Regions from separate parts of the Homo sapiens genome. Here region 2 is linked to region 1. Evidence: promoter capture Hi-C in 16 types of primary human blood cells and fetal thymus (Javierre and others, 2016). All regions are on one chromosome and are shown on one strand. The core of a region is centred on a gene start or on the middle of the fragment in contact, and the rest is flanking DNA. Distances in the headings are between cores, read along the strand shown. Region 1 holds the start of ACTR3B (actin related protein 3B). Region 2 has its middle 9.9 kb from the start of TRC-GCA9-3.

Region 1 (4,590 bases), core at 2,071-4,570:
AGTGCTGGGATTACAGGCATGAGCCACCGCGCCCAGCCAAATGACTTATTAATTACAAAGAAAAATAGTAACTGAACAGTGAAGAAACCTCGTGGACATCACCCTCTCCAAATGATCCAAGTGAACTTCATCAAGACTGAGGCGAGTCCCTATCTTAAGCCTTTCGATGGGATGCACTAAGAAGGATCAACAGGACTTCTGTGGTAGTCCTGACAAATATGCATATCCTGTATCTATCACAGAGAAACACTAGGTAACAACTGGCTGTCAAAAATGCCAACATCTTGAAAGACAAAAAAAGGTTAAGAAATTATTCCAGATTAAATTAGACTTAAAAGACATGACACCCACCAGATGCAATGTATGCCGCTGATGGGGAGGTCTTTCATGGGTGACATTCCATAAAAGACATGAATCCATACTGTATATAGGATACTACTGTATGTATGTTAAATTTTCTGATTTTGATGATTGGAATGTGATTCTAGAAGGGAAAATGTGTCCTCAGAAAGTACGCATTCAAGTATTTTGATATAAAAGGGTATGATCTCTGCAACTTACTCTCAAACAGTGCAGGAAAGTAATAATAATATGTATGGACATACAGAGAGTGACAAAGCAAATGTTAACAGTTGGTAAAACTGGAAGAAGAGTATACAGTAGTTTTTTGTTCTCTTCCAGCTTTCAGTAGATTTGAAATTATTTCAAAAAAAGTTGAAAAATGCAAAAGACTTCATTTGAAAAGTTTGGCTCAGAGAAGTGAGACCGGAGTTGTGAAATATTCTCTGAAAACTATGCAGCCTAGTCATCCCTTTAAATAGATGAAGCTTTATTTTTGGACTCAGCAGATCCCTTTGTCCATATTATCCTGGCCTCCAGCACATCACTGCTTACTCAGGTAGTCTCGGGGTTTACCTGAGGAGGATTCAAGGATACTGGGATGAAATTTATTTGTAAAAAATACTGTTTATCACACTGTCCAATAAATCATTAGTGCCCACTATGTATAGCTCAATGCTTTTACAATTTAGTACTACAAAAAAAGGCTTTTTTCACCCAAGAAACAGGTATTTCTCTTGATTTCTGATGACAGGAATTACATAACCATGACTCTTATGATGTTGTCAGACAGGAAGACTAAGGTCGAATGTGCGGACCAACTTCAGCAGCCACTGGGCTAAAGCTCAGGGTGACTTCCTAGGTCCGTTCTTTTCCTTTGGCTTGGTTATTTTTATCTGAATTTTACCACTTTTTGTCCTATTTTGAGGCAAAACTAAATCCAAAAATCATTTTGGCTCTCTGGGAAATGTAAGAACTACTGATGTGCTCAAGTTGGTAAATTCGGGCTCTTTCAGGCTCCTTCTGGCCATACACTCGATATGGGGAATTCATATGGAGATTCCCTGCCACCGTTTCTAAGTCTTGACACCAACTTCTGAAGCATGACTTTGGGCCACAAAACAATGATCTATAGAAGTTGAATCTCCAAGTTAGCCAAGTTACATTAATCACTTACCTCAAAAGGTCAAAACTGAGCACGACATTTTAGGTATTTATAGCAAGAAAGATGAGTAAGGTCCACGACTTACTAATCTTAAAGGTATGACAACTCTGTGAGCATTATTTTATTGCTACTACCAAGAATTCCTTTATATTTTAATAGTTCTGCAAGACTAAAACTACAAAGCAAAAATCTCACATGCAAATGTGGAAATGAAAAATACTTTCACCCACTGGTTTCACTCTTGACACAACCAGACCTGAGGGGACCTGAGGTGAACCCATTGGGGGAGGGCATGAGTTAAGGGTGTCAATAATTGAGGGAGGGGAGCTGTAGTATCGACAACGCTGATTTTGGCTTGTGTTTTAGGTAGAAAAGCAAGTTCTAAAATAAAGAGCTACAAAGCTTGATATGACGTGTATTTCAAAAAGAATTCACACAAGCAAAGAGGATTTTTCCAGTCCACAACCACTTCTGGTCGCTTCAGCAGCAAAAGGAAGGAACTAACAGTAGGAGATGGACTGTAGCAAACTAAAGAAGGCACCCCCACAAGGTTGTCAAGGAAACCAAACCAAGTGCATTTTTCTATAGAAAAGAATCAAGGGTAAGGTGAACATGCCATGTTACATTTTGTGGCAAAAATGATTAAAATCCCTTCTTGAAAAAAATCGCTAAGAGACCAAATTTACTTCCAGGCTATTTTACTAAGCACTACACCCATAACGCAGGCAGGCAAGCTTGTATTCCCAAACTACCAGCTACATGGATTCAGCAATCACCTTACTACAACCAGCTAACTTGGGTCACCGATACTTCAGGGCATTTCCTAAGATCTCTTTTTAATAGCTTAACGGCAACGAAAGAAGTGGTCACACTCAAAAAGTTAAAAACAAAAACCTCTACCACAATTCCACAAACATGCTCTCCCAAATTTAGGGTATTTTTCAAAATGGAGTCTTTTTAAACACATCATTTTTCAGCGAAAAGGCAAATCTATGCAAACCAAAGGGACAGCTTGGCCTGAGTGTGCCATTTCATACTGGAAAAGCGCAGGGAGGGCAGTAAAAATGGTATCAAGTTGGGAGATCGATGCTATTCTCTCCACAAGTAGGTGGTAAAGAATCCTCAGCCAGGAGGAATGACACGCACACGCGGGGACAGAACGAGGGCCAGTGCTGAGAACGCTGGAAGGCAGGGACACCGTTCACTAGGAGATGAGTGACGTTAAAGGATCTGCAGTGATGATCTGTGCCTCACGCTGGCGAATATTCCTAGGAGGGGAGATCCCGCGCTCCCGGTGTCCCTCAGGGTGTCCACCCCGGCGACGGCCGGAGCCGGGCTGCGGGTCCAGGGGCCCGGCCACGTGGGCGGGGGAGGCGAGGAGCGCCGGGCTCGCTCAGAGTGGGCACCGCGTCCCTACCCTCCGTGCTTTTCCTCTTGTGGCCCTTCCCGGCAGGGAAGAGGGGGTTTTACGACGTCAAGGCAAGGCTTGGAGGGAAGCGGCGGCCGGCGCCCCACCTGCCCAGGTGATCGCGGGGCTCAAGCCCGGGGCGACGGACGCAGCTCGACCTCCAGGCGAGGTGGACGCCAGGGGCCGGGAGCGGGGCCGCGGAGGAGCGGGGGTGGGCGCCGAGCTGCTCTTACCCGGTGCCACAGTCCACCACGCAGGGAGGCAGGGAGCCTGCCATGCTCGGGACGCGCGGCGCTCGGCCCCGCCGGCAGCCCGAGAGCGCCCCGTCGCCGTCCGCTCCGCCGCCCGCTAGCCCCGCGCGCAGCGTCTCCCGCGAGCCGCCGCAGCGCCGCTGCCGGGAGCCCGGATGCTCGGCGGCCGACACGTGACGTCACTCCCCGGTCGGCCAATCAGAACGCGCGCACGCCCCGCCTCCCCCAACACCCCCACCCCCACTCCGGCGCGCCATCTTTAGTGCTGGCAGCGAGGCTTCTTGGCCCCATACGTCCAACCTTGCTGCTGGAGAGATTGGGGTTTATTTTTAACTGACTTACATGAACGTGACCCCATTTCCGAGGCCTGGCGCCTTTCTCCTCCTGTAAGTCTTCGCTCGAATGTCACCTTGCGAGGGAAGTTGTTCCTGATCACCCTGACTATGTCCCCTACCGGTACTGTATCCTCTGTCTCAACAATCTGTTGGTTTCATTCCTAACCCTTAAAGCAAAGTGTTTATATTTTTATATTTATGTATTTGTTGTCTGCCTCCCCTACTGGACTATCAAATCTTCTAGGATAGGGCTTGAGTCTGTCTTAATCACTATTGATGAGCAGCAGGTGCTTAGCACAGTATTTGGTGTACCTGTGGAAGTGCCCAAATGTTTGTTGAATGACTGAGTAACCTTCCCCATATAATAAAAAAAAAAAAAAAAATTAGTTGGAATTGGCCGGGCGCGGTGGCTCACGCCTGTAATCCCAGCACTTTGGGAGGCTGAGGGTGGATCACAAGGTCAGGAGTTCCAGACCAGCCTGGCCAACATGGTGAAACCCCTTCTCTACTGAAAATACAAAAATTAGCCGGGCGTGGTGGCGGGTGCCTGTAATCCCAGCTGCTCCGGAGGCTGAGGCAGGAGAATCGCTTGAACCTGGGAGGCGGAGGTTGCAGTGAGCCAAGATCGCGCCATTGCACTCCAGCCTGGACAACAGGGCGAGAGTCTGTCTCAAAAAAACAACAAAAAAAATTAGTTGGAATTATTATACCTAACACGGCCTAAATTTTTCTAAGAAGAAAAATCTGCAAAACAAATGCTTGGCCAGCCTTAAGGAATGAATGGCCTTAGACTGAGTAAACCACACCAAGATCACTCCTGGAAAATGTTTTCAAGTGTCGAAGATGGGATGATCGCCCAAAAGTTCTTACTGAAACCAAAGAAGGCAAACACCACCTACTATATTATAAAGGTACTGAGAGTCCCACTTGCCACTTGCTTCCTGCTTCTTGCCCGATCGTAAATTCTTGATACTAATTTTTTAGGAGCTTTCTGGAAACATGTATTTTTTTGTTTTGTTTTGTTTTTTGAGATGAGTCTCACTCTGTCGCCCAGGCTGGAGTGCAGTGGCGCAATCTCGGCTCACTGCAACT
Region 2 (4,282 bases), core at 1,583-4,082, 3.1 Mb after region 1:
GGAAAAGCACTGCTAGAATGACCTTCAGAGTCAACCTCTAGTGCCTGTCACGGTGGGCACCTACAAAAGAAACTCCATGTGACTGAGGTGTCTTTTCTAACACACTTAATGACAGAGTTGCGTCTGGCTCTCCTGGCCCAGTATTCCATTCAGGGCACTTTCAACACAACTGCAATCTACGACAAAAGATGATTCTTCCAGCTCTACTTCTTCAGTTAATATACATGGAGAATGATGGAGAAGAAGCAACTCCAAGAAATAGTGAGAAGGTGGTAGCTGAGTAGATTTTGGAATCCCCAAAAGCCTTAAAAGGACCAATGTTAACCTAGTTTCAAGGACCAAAAAATGTTGCAGGAGAACAACCCCACTTGACTCTTTCATTGTTTTTTAAGCGGCAGGGTATTCTACTGTTACCCAGGCTGGAGTGCAGTGAAACAATTATAGCTCACTGCAGCCTCCAACTCTTGGGCTCAAGCAAGCCTCCCGCCTCAGCCTCTCAACTAACTGGGACCACAGGTGTGTGCCACCATACCCAGTTAATACTTTTTATTTTTATTTTTTTGTAGAGCAGACGTCTCACTATGTTGCCCAGGCTGGTCTGAAACTCGGGGCCTCAAGCGATCCTCCTGCCTTGGCCTCCCAAAGCTCTGGGATGAGCCACTGCGTCCAGCCTCCCACGTGACCTTTCCGATGGCAAGCAGAGCCCTGTCCCTCTTAGAAGGAACACGTGGAGTAACACTTGGGTAAGCTCGTTTTCACCTCCTCAGCTGTGCCAAGGCCCCGCCTCTTCTCTTGTCACAGGAGCTGGTAAACTGTCCCTTCCTGTGAACTGTCTTTTCCTTCTACTGGAATTTTCTCCTTTACCCACAGGCCTTTTGCCTTGTAGCCCTGGCAGCCTTCTCAGAAGGCAGCAAAGCCAGCCACTCCTCTCCACTTCTGGTCCGAGGACCTGGGAAACACTGAATTCCACAGTGATTTCTATGATGTTAAATTCCTTCAAGGGACACACAGATGGTCACTTAAGTCCAGACCGCACTTTGCCCCACTGCTCACATCCTCCAGCACACACCATGGGACACACCATGAAAGCACTAGTTCCCCTAGGGGCCATATTGCCATGGAGATGACACCTCTGTCTCCTCAAACAGGAATAAGGCCCTTTTCCAAGGTAATCCGGGAGTAGCTCTTCCAGGCAACATGGCAGGGACTTGCCAACACATTGTTGTCTTGATAATAGAGGTAAATTATCATGCAGGGTGACCCGCAAAAAGGCCACAGTGAGAGAGGAAGCGGTGGTCTTCTACTGGGTCCCGTATCAAGTGGTGAAAGGAAGGCTGGACTCAGGGACATTTGCAGAATGATCTACTCCAATCTCCTCACTTTACATGTGAGGCAAGGGCTGACTGACTTGCCCAAGGGTCTCGACTGGTTAATGACAGAACTGACAGGTCTCCTGATTCCCAGTTCCCCCTACAATCTCCGTGGTGCACATGTCCCAGCCTAGACAAGGCTGGCTTTTTTTTTTTTTTAATCCAGGACATTACAGTGAAGCTAAGGAAGCTTCAGAGTGCCTTTCCTGCACCAGCTCTGTGCCTCCTTCTAAATTTGTAATTTTATGAGGCTTTTACTTAATAATGTTCTTCCTGATTACACAAGCTGCAGACCCATAAAACACGAGTCCACCCCTAGGAGAGGAGATGTGTTACTTGAGAGGGGAAGGAATCACGTGGAAGAGCTGAAGGGAAAAAAAAAAAAAAACAGGAAAAACCTGGGGCAGGTCCAGGGACATTCTCCTACAGCTCACGGGGTGAGTAGGGTGATTTTACCCTTTGTCGGATTTACTCCAAAAGACAAAATGATGCCAAAGGCTCCAGGCAGGAAATCTCTAAACCCCCTCATTTGAGGGACAATCGCCCAGAGATGAGAGGCATCAGAGAATAGCTAGGTTGTGCCTGCGACCCAAAGAAGCAAGTCGGACGCAGGAGCATCGGCAACACTATGAGTAAGGTCTTCGCCCACACGACTCCTGGGGCAATTCCATTTTTATACACTGAACGTACAGCCCACGCTGATGAAGAGAAACTAGGGGAGAATGTTCAGATCCCGGTCCCTAGGCCTGGCAAGCCCCATAGACCCCACATCACATGTCGCAGGTTCCCCAGCTGGAAAGAGCCCCACTCAGCCCAGGAATCTGAAAGGCAATGCGCCTCTGTAACCACGTGGGGGCCCCCGTCCAAGGCGCCCTCCATCCTCAGCCTCTTAAGGACTTTTAAATGTTTATTTTTCTCTCGTTTAAAAATACTATCCTTGTTATTGAAAAATAAAAACATGAATTGGGAAAATAAAATGCGTAAAAACGGCCTGTGCTCTATTAAAGAAAACTACTTAGTCTATGTTGACATTTGTATGCTTCCAAACTTTCAAAACTATAGATACACATATACACGGTATATAATACTACATATGATGTCATATATTGTTTTAAAGTGTTAATTTTAAAACAAAGACAGGATCGTTCTGGACAGGCTTTTTCTCTTAAAATATCATGAACATCTGTCCATACCAATTTCTTCCCCAAAATAATGTTCAATGATGGTATTGCGTTCCATTGCTCATGCCATTAAAAAATATTTACTGTAATAAACACATGGTAGAAAATGCTAAGTAGCATCTACCGGTATATTCCTATTGTTCGAAGTATTTATTCCACTTCAAACACAGATGGGGATGAGTTACAGCTGCCCCCCGAAAACAGCCCAAACCTCCAGGCCCAGGACCTCGGGCGGCAGAAGTGCCTGTTCGGCCGCGCCGGGGCCCAGCTGGGCGAGGGGGCCACACTGCCCGCGGTCACCGGGGAGGGCCCTGCCTGGAAGCCCCTGCTTGCCCGCGGGCGCGGCCAGGCGGGTCTTATGAGGGGGACTCTTTCGGTAACCGAGTCCCTCGGCCTGGGTCGCGGGGCCAGCGCAGTGACTGCGCGCGCACACGCGGCAGTCGGGGAAGGGGCGAGGGGTCGGCCAGGGGTCGCGGGGTCAGCTCCCGGGCGCGGGCCAGGCGGGGTCGCGCCTGCAGTTCGCCTCCGGAGCTGCAGGTGGGGCTGTGCGGCTGCCTGCCTCCAGGAAGCCTCATGTGCCTTCGTCGGCCGCGCCGGCTCCCAGGATACAGTGCGGACCGGCCGGGCGCTAAAGGCGTTGACGCAACTGCGGGCGGCGCAGGGCAGGGGCAGTCAGGGAGCAGCGGCGGCAGAGACAGGGCTGGGCGGGCGCCGCCTGCGGAGAGCACCGGGAGGCGGGCCCTGCGTGGGGCCGCGCGCAGCAGCGGCGACGACTTTATCTGGGCCGCGGGGGACAGCGCAGGGCCATGGAGGAGGCGGCCGCAGCTCCGGTAAGGGCGACCAGCGCGCGCACGAACTCGCGGCCTGGATTCCCCGGGCGACCCGGGCCCGGCACACGGGGGCTGCGGGAGCCGAGCCGTACTACCGCGCCTGGGGCTCCGGGGAACAGGGCCGCGGCGTCTGCCGGGGCCTACTGCGCTTGCCAGCCGGGCCCCCCACTCCGGGCCGAGCCCGAGCGCTGGCGGAACGGTTGTCCCCGCCCCGGGCCGCCCCACGCCAAGATCCTTGGCCCCTCCGGGGCTTCCTGCCCCCGCCCCAGCCGCTGAACCCTACATCTGCGTCCCCCCACCCGAGGCTCTTTTCTCTGCTTGGCGCTCGGCCTGTGGGTCCCTCCCCCAGCTCCCCCCAGCGGCTTAGTGGTACCTGGGAGTTGTGAGGCTTCGAATCCGCGTATACCGACACCCCTTACGTGCCCAGCTCCCCAGGGTCGGCGCGGAAGGGAATATAGAGCCAGGTACTGCACCAAGTCCTGTTGAGGCCTTAGTCTGTCCTTCTGTCCTCACAGCAAGCCTGTGGGATGGGTACTGGTGTTATCTCTGTCATGCAAAAGAAAAACCTGGGGCTTAGAGAAGTTAACTTGCCCAGGCTTGCACACCTGGAAGTGTGAAAAGACACACAGTGGCTGTGTGTTCAAGGACCAGGCAGGCAGGTACGCGGGCAATAATTGTGCAAAATAGGAAGGGGTGAGTGTTGGCGCCCAGGTGGAAGCTTGCGGTGGGCTCCGGGGGAAGGAGTGTCAGGGGGCCTCTTGGTACCGCTGTCCACCCCTCCTGGCCTGATGCTCTGCGCCTCTGTGATTTGAGCCGGGCTTTTAGGGACGGCTAGGATTTCAGGCCCAGCTAGACCGGTGGTGCTTTCAGGGAGGGAGGAGTGCCTGGGCAAAGGCGCAGA

Evidence for each region. The method cuts DNA at HindIII sites, captures the fragments that hold promoters and counts their contacts. A CHiCAGO score of 5 or more calls a contact.
Region 2: a contact is called between a fragment that was not itself captured here and the fragment with the promoter of ACTR3B in region 1, in 1 of 17 cell types (monocytes). The highest score is 9.1, in monocytes.

What each region holds. Positions count from the first base shown.
Region 1 is chr7:152,758,482-152,763,071 of GRCh38, reverse strand. ACTR3B (actin related protein 3B) reads right to left here and starts at 3,320. Exons shown (of 12, transcript NM_020445.6): 1 at 3,146-3,320. The coding sequence starts at 3,189. RefSeq lists enhancers at 2,469-2,518, 3,519-3,678 and silencers at 2,694-2,988, 2,749-3,268. The HindIII fragment of the contact is 7,028 bases long and covers 2,241-4,590 here.
Region 2 is chr7:149,623,641-149,627,922 of GRCh38, reverse strand. It overlaps the pseudogene ZNF767P. Among named protein-coding and RNA genes, the nearest start is that of TRC-GCA9-3, 9.9 kb to the left of the region's middle. RefSeq lists silencers at 2,776-3,525, 3,546-3,645. The HindIII fragment of the contact is 2,539 bases long and covers 1,563-4,101 here.